Linked DNA regions of Homo sapiens: all the other regions are linked to region 2. The links are contacts of gene promoters, found by promoter capture Hi-C in blood cells and fetal thymus (Javierre and others, 2016). All regions are on one chromosome and are shown on one strand. The core of a region is centred on a gene start or on the middle of the fragment in contact, and the rest is flanking DNA. Distances in the headings are between cores, read along the strand shown. Region 1 holds the start of ZNF839 (zinc finger protein 839). Region 2 holds the start of EIF5 (eukaryotic translation initiation factor 5). Region 3 has its middle 4.0 kb from the start of HSP90AA1.

Region 1 (2,775 bases), core at 3-2,502, 1.0 Mb after region 2:
GTTCCTGATTCTATTCCCTAACCCGTTTCTTCTAGTGGAAAAAGCTGTCTTCTTTTGGCAATTTTGGGGTGAGACTAATTTTGTTTACAACCCCAGCGCTGAAATGGGGTGGAATTTTACAGATGCCGTGTAGGCCCTCTGGCTTCAGGCGCTATGCTTCACCCTCCGGAGTTGGGCGACCGTCTTCTAGTTATCACCCCCCTAGCAACCAAAAGGTGTGTGGCCCAGGAAATAAACCCACTGGGAAAGGATGTTTTGTAGTATACAGAGTGCTTTCACATATTCCAAACATTGTGTATCAGGCACTGTGCTGGGTACTGCGGTTACAAATCAGTCACTATCACCCAGGATGTTAAGTCCTGCAGCGAACTAGTGTATTGTGCTTGACTTTGTTCCAAGCCTGGGCCTTGGCACCTTACAACTGAAAAGCTAAGTTGGTTCCTTTTAATTCATTTATGTTTCAGCTCCAGTGTCTGGCCTACGGGACCACCCACTCTAAAGCAGCCCCCGTCAATCCCAGAACCTGCCTTATGTTCGTTCTTCAGCAAGTGTGTTCAAGGCTTCACCTCCTGCACATAGTGGGGAGTGCTGGGAACACGGTCTCTAAGTGCTCCACAAAGGCTGAACCAGCGGTGAAAGGCCTGTAAGAAGAGCTAGGGAGCACGCAAAAGCCCCCAGCAGGGCTGTGAAGGCAGAGAAGGCACGAGGGCGTTCCAGGCACAGGGCCCAGCGTGAGCAACCGCTCCTAGAGTGAGGCTCCTGGGGTGAAAATGCCAGGGTGGTGACAGGTGGGGGCCGAACGCCGTCCCTAAGAAGCTCAGCCTGGGGACGCCCTGAGTCTTAACCCGGGCGGATACTGGCCTCCCCGGACAAGCAGCTACCCCGCCGCGGGGCGTCGGCCCCCTTCGGGCCTCAGTTTCCCCACGTCCCTCCCGACGCCTCACCTGGGGCGGGAGCAGGCGCGGCAGGCGCGGGGGCTCGGTGCCCCGGCCCCGCTGCAGGGCGGCCTGTTGGGCCGCGTCCCGCAGCCGCCGCGCCGCGTCCCGCAGCACGAAGGGGGGCGGCGGCGGCGGCGGCTGCGCCTTCGTCACCTGCTCCAGGACCTGCCGCAGCTGCTCGGGGCCCAGCGGGGCCACACGTGCGACGCTGCCGCTCTGGCCCGGAGGAGCCGGGCCGCCGCCGCCGCCGCCATCCTCGCTGCCGCCCCCAGCCTCCGGCTCCGCATCCGCCATGGCGGCCGAGGCGGGGACTCGAACCCGGGTCGCTGAGCGACGGCGTCTCCAATGTACGTCACCTAGGAGAGGGGCGGGCTACGAGTGCCTCGCAGGCCAAGACACCTAGGAAGGCGACCGTGTCTGGCCGGGAAAGTCGTGGAGTGCCCCGCCCCAGCCGACAACCGCCGCGGCTCTTAGGGCTGATCAGCAGAGCGGACCCCCCTTATTTTCCTTATTGCCTGTCACGGATGTGTTTAAGACTCACCTTCTCTGGGAGCTGTCCCGGATCTCCCAGGGGGAGGTCTTCGGGGTTTCAGAGCCCCTGGCCCAAAAGTTACCACAATATCCAAGTGTTCTGACGTCATCATGCATCCGAATCAGCGGAGGATGCTGTCTGGAGATGCAGAGTACTGTGCCCACCCCTAAACATTTGGATTTATACATCTGGGAGGGGACCACAGTTTGAATTGTTAACGAGAGTGTTTCCCAAATTTTTGCCTTGTCACCGTAGCTTCTCTCTACCCACCCACCCAGATTGGGTGCACCTTGAAGGGAGAGATGATATATTACACAATCGGTGCCCAGCACAGGCCCTGCCCAGAACACAACGCACGCTCAGGGCATGAATGATGGATGGATGAATATGAATAAACGAATGAGTGAACGAATGAATGAACCCACCCTCTCTCTATCCATCCAGCTCCACTGCCCCATCTTCCTCAGCCTGATCGCCTCTCCTTCTTACGGTTGAGGCTCTGTGCGCCCTCCGAATCTTGTAGCTGCAGGTGTGTACACATGTCCCAGCTCCTTTCCCCAGGGAGAGCAGGAGGTCCACTGGTCCACAAACCCTTCTTAAGCACCTGGTGGGTGAACCGCTGTTTCCGCCCTGGGGGGTATACAGTCTAGGTGCCGACCCCCAAGGAGGAAACTTCCCAAGGGGGAAGGAGGAAACTGGCATTTGCAGCACAGTATGATGAGCGCCGAAGCCGGTAAAGTAAGGCTGGCGGCCTGGGTGGCGTCAGAGAAGGTTCTGGAAGATCACCACCATCCTCATCAATACTCACATTGCATTCACGATGATCCCTTCCGTGTTATTTTTTAATGGTGAATTTTATATTATGGGTATCTTACCACAATTTTTTTTTTTTTTTGAGACAAGATCTCACTCTGTCACCCAGGCTGGAGTGCAGTGGCACAATCTCAGCTCACCGCAACCTCCATCGCCTGGGTTCATGCGGTTCTCCTGCCTCAGCCTCTTGAGTAGCTGGGATTACAGGCGTCCGCCACCATGCCTGGCTAATTTTTGTATTTTTAGTAGAGACGGGGTTTCATCATGTTGGTAAGGCTGGTCTTGAAACCCTGACCTTAGGTGATCCGCCCGCCTCGGCCTTCCCAAGTGCTGAGATTACAGGTGTGAGCCACCACACCCGACCAGATTTCAGGAATTCACATGCCTTCTGCTCAAAATAATTTTCATGCCACCGTGGCATATTCTAAACCCCTTCAAGCTCAGGAAACTTGAGGGCAGCAACCTCCACCGATTCCTCCATGCTGTGTCCCT
Region 2 (2,700 bases), core at 73-2,572:
CTGCTTAACTCCACCTTAAAAAGCATCTGAGATCACATGCAAACAGCCATTCTCATGTAACACAGTACAATCTGCGGGAACATAAAAAGGCCTCCATTTCGACTAAGCTGTGACTGGTAGGGAAATGCCTGACAAGAAAACACAAGCTGTGCTGCCTCAGCCGCCGTGAGATTCCATCAGACCGAGGGCAATCAGCAGGTTTGCCTCTGCGGCCATCCTGGAAGTGCTGAAGAACGAACCCGAGCCCTCTCCGCCGCCCACCCCGCCTGGATAAGCAAACTTCTCAGGCACACCCCCGTTCGTCTTCATTTTTAAGGGCAACCTAGGGAACTGTTCTCTACAACTAATCGTTGCTTCGGCAACCATGGCTTACTTCAAAGCAGCACTTCCTTAAACGCAGCGCTCGCCCACAATTTGCCATTAAGCAAGAGAGCGCGAGCGAACGCCAGGCTCGCCCCGGCCTCCCTTTTCCTCGCTATTCAAATACTCGGTTAACCTTCGCCCTGGTCCCCATGGCTACCGCGCTCCGAGGCGTTTCCGCGGGGGCTGGCGAACCGGGCAGCTCCGCGAAGGAGGGGGGCGCGCGACCGGGGCGTCTGGCCCCATCCCCAGCGCGTCCCCCGAGAGCCGGCGGCCCCGGAGGGTGCACAGCCGGGAAGCGACACACGGCCGAGGGGTGCCGGGATCGGGCCGCCCCCGCCCCAGAGCGCGCGATGACTCACAAATGCAGCAGCTGAAGCCTGAGTCAGCCCGAGCGGCGGGCACGCGCGACGCGCTCCCGCCATGCCGGGGAGGGGGCGAGGCCGGGCCGGGGAGCGCGCGGGGAGGGGGCGGCCGGCGCCCGGGCCCGCGCCCGCCCGCCGTCCGCCCAAACTGCGCCACACGCCGCGGCGGGGTCACGCGGCGGCCGCCGCCATCTTGTGCGGCCGCCATCTCCTGGCCCGCCGCGCCCGCGACTCACCGTTTTCGTCAAATAAAGACATAAACCCAACGCTGCTCGCCCGGGACTGGGATGAAGTGAGGCGCGATATAAACCCGAGTCCGAGTCCGAGGAGGCGGAGGCGAAGCGCAGCGAGGAGCGGCCGGGCCAGGTGCCGCCGCCGAGCAGCGGGGAGGGGCTGTCCCAGCGACGTCCGCGGTCCACACCCGTCAGCGCCGGAGCTGGGCGACCTGGCGCGGAGAGACGGCGCCGTGAGCCGTGGGCGGTCGGGGAGTGCACCTTCCCCGCCAGCCAGCGGCCCGAGGGGTCGAGGGGGCGGGAAGCACCGGGCAGGGGGCCGCCCCTTCACCGGACTCACCTCTGGAATGTTCTCGCTCTGACTGAACAACGCCGCCGCCGCGCTCAAGCTACCCTCGGCCCCAGCGTCCGCCCCCCGCGTCAGGCCTCACTGCCCATTGGCTGGAGGCCTGCCACAGCTCGCTCGTCATTGGTTCGCTTGCGACGTCAATCGCATCTTTCCGCGCCCCTTCTGCTTCCTGAGGCTCAACTCGCGGCCTCGGCCCGCCTCCAGCCCCGGTCTCGCTTCCTTCCTCTCCCCTCCCCCCGCCTTTCCCAGAGGTCTTCGCGGCGCAGCCCTTGGGTCTCGCGAGACCCGGAGTGGCCCTGGTGGCGGGGCCGGGGTACCGGGGGCCGTTCTTTGTCGGTTTGGGCCTTGAGGGGGAGATGGTGGTTGGTCCCCTCCCTCGCCGGGTCTGGGACAGGCCGCGGCGTCATGGCGACTCCCGGGACGCAGGAGCCATCGTCCTCGAAACTGCTTTCGAGGCCGTGTTTTTGCGGCTGCCACCTTCGGGGAGAGGAACCCGACCGCGTTCTCCCCGCAGCGGGCGCTCATCTCCCTTTCCCGTTCTCCCGGGACGCCCGACTCCGGGCCTCGAGGAATGAGTTGTTTTTCCACCTTAAGCCCCAGGCCTGGGTCTTTCATCCCAGGGACGTCTTCTGTTTCGGACTCGGGGTGGATTGGCCGCTGGCGGAACGAGTCCGTGACTCGCCAGTGACCGCCCAGGGCGGTCGCGAGGCCGCGCCGCCTCGGTGTCGGCCCGCAACCCAGCCTGCGCGCTTAGCTCAGCGCGTCGCCTCCCGTTTTCGGAAGAGGAGGCCCTTAATTGGTTTGGAATCCTGGGGCCTCCTGAAGGCGCTTCGTGGTGGGTTCCCACCTTCTGGTGAAGGCCTCCCTGCTCTCCCAGGGTTGAAAAGCGCTATCCTTCGTGCTTCTCTTGTCACCTTTCTCCTAGTGGGCATCACGTCGAGTCCACCCCCTCTAGTTTATGACTTGTGAATTCTTTGATAAGCAAATCGTAGCCCAGAGCAGGCATTTATAATGAGATTCCAATGTATTCCGTTGAAAATTACTATTATTTAGGCCGGTCGCGGTGGCTCACGTCTGTAATCCCAGCACTTTGGGAGGCTGAGGTGGGCGGATCACCTGAGGTCGGGAATTTGAGACCAGCCTGGCCAATATGGTGGAACCCTGTCTCTACTAAAAATACAAAAAATTAGCTGGGCGTGGTGGCTCGCTTGTAATCCCAGCTACTCGGGAGGCTGAGGCAGGAGAATCCTTGAACCCGGGAGGCACAGGTTACAGTGAGCCGAGATCACACCACTGCACTCCAGCCTGGACAACAGAGCGAGACTGTCTCCAAAAAAAAAAAAAAAGAAAATTTTTATTATTTAGAGAGAGGCTCTCATATTTTAGTTCTGTT
Region 3 (2,700 bases), core at 187-2,686, 1.2 Mb after region 2:
CCACAATGGAATTAAATATTAGAAATCAATAATAGCATGGTGGCTCACTCCTGTAATCCCAGGATTTTGCGACACCGAGGCAGGCACATCACTTGAGGCCAGGAGTTTGAGACCAGCCTGGTGAACATGGTGAAAGCCCATCTCTACTAAAAATACAAAAAAGTCAGCCAGGTGTGGTGACGCATGCATGTAATCCCAGCTACTTGGGAGACAGAGGCATGAGAATTGCTTGAACCCAGGAGGCGGAGGTTGCAGTGAGCCAAGAGCACGCGACACTGCACTCCAGCCTGGGCGACAGAGCGGGACTGTCTCAAAAAAAAAAAAATCAGTAACAAAAAAAATCTGAAAAACCTCCAACTATTTGAAAAGTAAAACATGTAAAAATAACCCATGAGTCAAGAAATAAAAGGAAATTTTAAAAATATTTTGAGCTGAATGAAAATGAGAAAATGTATCAAAATGAATGAGCCAAGGGCAGTTGTGGTGGCTCACACCTGTAATCCCAGCACTTTGGGAGGCCACAGTGGGAGGACTCCTTAAGTCCAGGAGTTCAAGACCAGCCTGGGTAATATGGCAAGACCTCATCTCTACAAAAAAAATAAAATTTAGCTGGGTGTGGTGGCACATGCCTGTGGTCCCAGCTCCTCAGGAGGCTGAGGCAGAAGGATCACTTGCGCCCAGGAGGCTGATGGTGTAGTGAACCATGTTTGTGCCACTGTGCTCCAGCCTGGGCAAGAGAGTGAGACTGTCTCTTTTTTTGTTTGTTTGTTTTTTTGAGACAGTCTCACTCTGTTGCCCAGGTTGGAGTGCAGTGGTGCAATCTCGGCTCACTGCAGCCTCTGCCTCCTGAGTTCAAGCAATTGTCCTGCCTCAGCCTCCCGAGTAGCTGGGACTACAGGTGTGTGCTGCCACACCCAGCTAAATTTTTTTGTATTTTTTGTAGAGATGGGGTTTCACCATGTTGTCCAGGCTGGTCACAAACTTCTGACCTCAATTGATTGGTCTGCCTCAGCCTCCCAAAGTGCTGGGATTACAGGTGTGAGCCATTGCACCCAGCTGAGACTGTTTATCAGGATAAAACAAAAATCATGAGCCAGACCTGGGTGTAACTGCCCTGGAGGCCCTTGCTCTGGGTGACCCTGAGTAAAGGACTTACCTCTCCTAAGCCTCAGTGTTCTCAACTGTACAGTGGGACCAAAGACACCTACTTCAGAGTCGAGAGGACTAAGAAACTGCATGCAAAGTAGCTAGCCTGCTGCCTGGCAAGCAAGTGAGGGGGCATAAATTGCTATGGGGTAGGCTATCACCTGAGCCATCTCCAAAACCAGAAGTGGCTCATTTAAGCTTCATAACCACTCTATGAAGAAGACATGTTCATGTCTATGCTACAGATACTGAACTGGATGCATAGAAAGGGTAAGTGACTTGCCCTGGGTCACACAGGCAGTGGCTGAGCTAAGATCTGAATCCAGGCCACCTGGATCCAGAATCCATGCTCCAGCTTTACTGAGGGACACTGAAAGCTTTCAAATAGAGGAGGAAAATGGTCAGATTGCCCTAACAGCAACATCACTGTGGGACGAGGTCAACAAATATTTAGGATGCTAAATCTGCAAGGCTTGGTGATCTATTAGAAATACGTTGTTGAGGCCAGGCACTGTGGCTCACGCCTCTAATCCCAGCACTTTGGGAGGCCAAGGCGGGCGGATCACAAGGTCAAGAGATCAAGACCATCCTGGCTAACACGGTGAAACCCCCTCTCTACTTAAAGAATACAAAAAATTAGCCAGGTGTGGTGGCGGGCGCCTGTAGTCCCAGCTACTAGGGAGGCTGAAGTAGGAGAATGGCGTGAACCCGGGAGGCGGAGCTTGTAACAAGCCAAGATCGCACCACTGCACTCCAGCCTGGGCGACAGAGCAAGACTCCGTCTCAAAAAAAAAAAAAGAAATATGTTGTTGAGGAAGGAAGAGGAGGAGGCTGGACAGAAAAGGCGGTGAAGCAGGAGTGGAAGAACTTGGGGTTGGAGGGCTAGAGGAAGCAGAGGAGCACATGTGGTCTGTACTCTGAAGGAGAGGGCACCACATTCTGAGAACCTCTCCATGACAGGACACCTGGCCTGGTGGGAGGCAGGTGGGGTTCCTAAGAAAATGTGTGAGCAGAAGATCCATTAAAAATTAATTAGAGAAGAACAGAGGGAATGGTGTTCCAGGCAGAGGGAACAGCATTTGCACAGCCTCGTGGGGGCGAGTCATGGGGAGTGCGCCAGACACAGAAATAGGAGCACAGTGGGAACTGGCGCTGTATGGGGAGGCAGCAGCGACCTGCAGGGCCTCACAGGCCTAAAGAGCTCTGTCTTCCTCCTAGAAGGATGGGAAGTCAGCTAGAATTTGCAGAGGGTGGGGAGGAGGGAATAGATAGGGCCAGGTCTGTGTTCTCAAAGCTCACCCTGGCTACAGTTTGGAGACAGACCAGACCATATGCAGGGAGCAGTTAGGTGGTTATGGAGGCCTTCCAGGTGAGCTGACGGTTGTGTGGAAGCGGGGGATGAAGGTGGAGGGAAGTGGCTGGGTTCAAGAGGTACTTAGGAGGCAGAAGTGGCAGGACTCAGTGCCAGATCCGTTGTGGGGATGCTTGGGGTTCTTTAAGGTGGGATAGTCAGTGACCTGGCTAACGAGCCCTCAAAGAGGGCTGGAGACAGGG

Evidence for each region. Contacts are between HindIII fragments. The CHiCAGO score rates a contact against its expected background, and 5 or more counts as called.
Region 1: a contact is called between the fragment with the promoter of ZNF839 here and the fragment with the promoter of EIF5 in region 2, in 5 of 17 cell types (naive CD8 T cells, total CD4 T cells, monocytes and 2 more). The highest score is 9.8, in naive CD8 T cells.
Region 3: a contact is called between a fragment that was not itself captured here and the fragment with the promoter of EIF5 in region 2, in 1 of 17 cell types (activated CD4 T cells). The highest score is 5.8, in activated CD4 T cells.

Annotation. Positions count from the first base shown.
Region 1 is chr14:102,318,223-102,320,997 of GRCh38, reverse strand. It overlaps ZNF839 (zinc finger protein 839), which reads right to left and starts at 1,252. Exons shown (of 8, transcript NM_018335.6): 1 at 945-1,252. The coding sequence starts at 1,232. RefSeq lists an enhancer at 633-742 and silencers at 843-1,032, 1,093-1,192. The HindIII fragment of the contact is 5,518 bases long and covers 1-2,775 here.
Region 2 is chr14:103,332,859-103,335,558 of GRCh38, reverse strand. EIF5 (eukaryotic translation initiation factor 5) reads right to left here and starts at 1,322. Exons shown (of 12, transcript NM_001969.5): 1 at 1,299-1,322; 2 at 962-1,170. EIF5-DT (EIF5 divergent transcript) reads left to right here and starts at 899. Exons shown (of 1, transcript NR_158216.2): 1 at 899-2,700. RefSeq lists silencers at 467-706, 817-866, 1,007-1,426 and an enhancer at 1,747-1,866. The HindIII fragment of the contact is 3,190 bases long and covers 1-2,700 here.
Region 3 is chr14:102,089,699-102,092,398 of GRCh38, reverse strand. It overlaps a transcript of HSP90AA1 not described here. Among named protein-coding and RNA genes, the nearest start is that of HSP90AA1, 4.0 kb to the right of the region's middle. The HindIII fragment of the contact is 179 bases long and covers 1,347-1,525 here.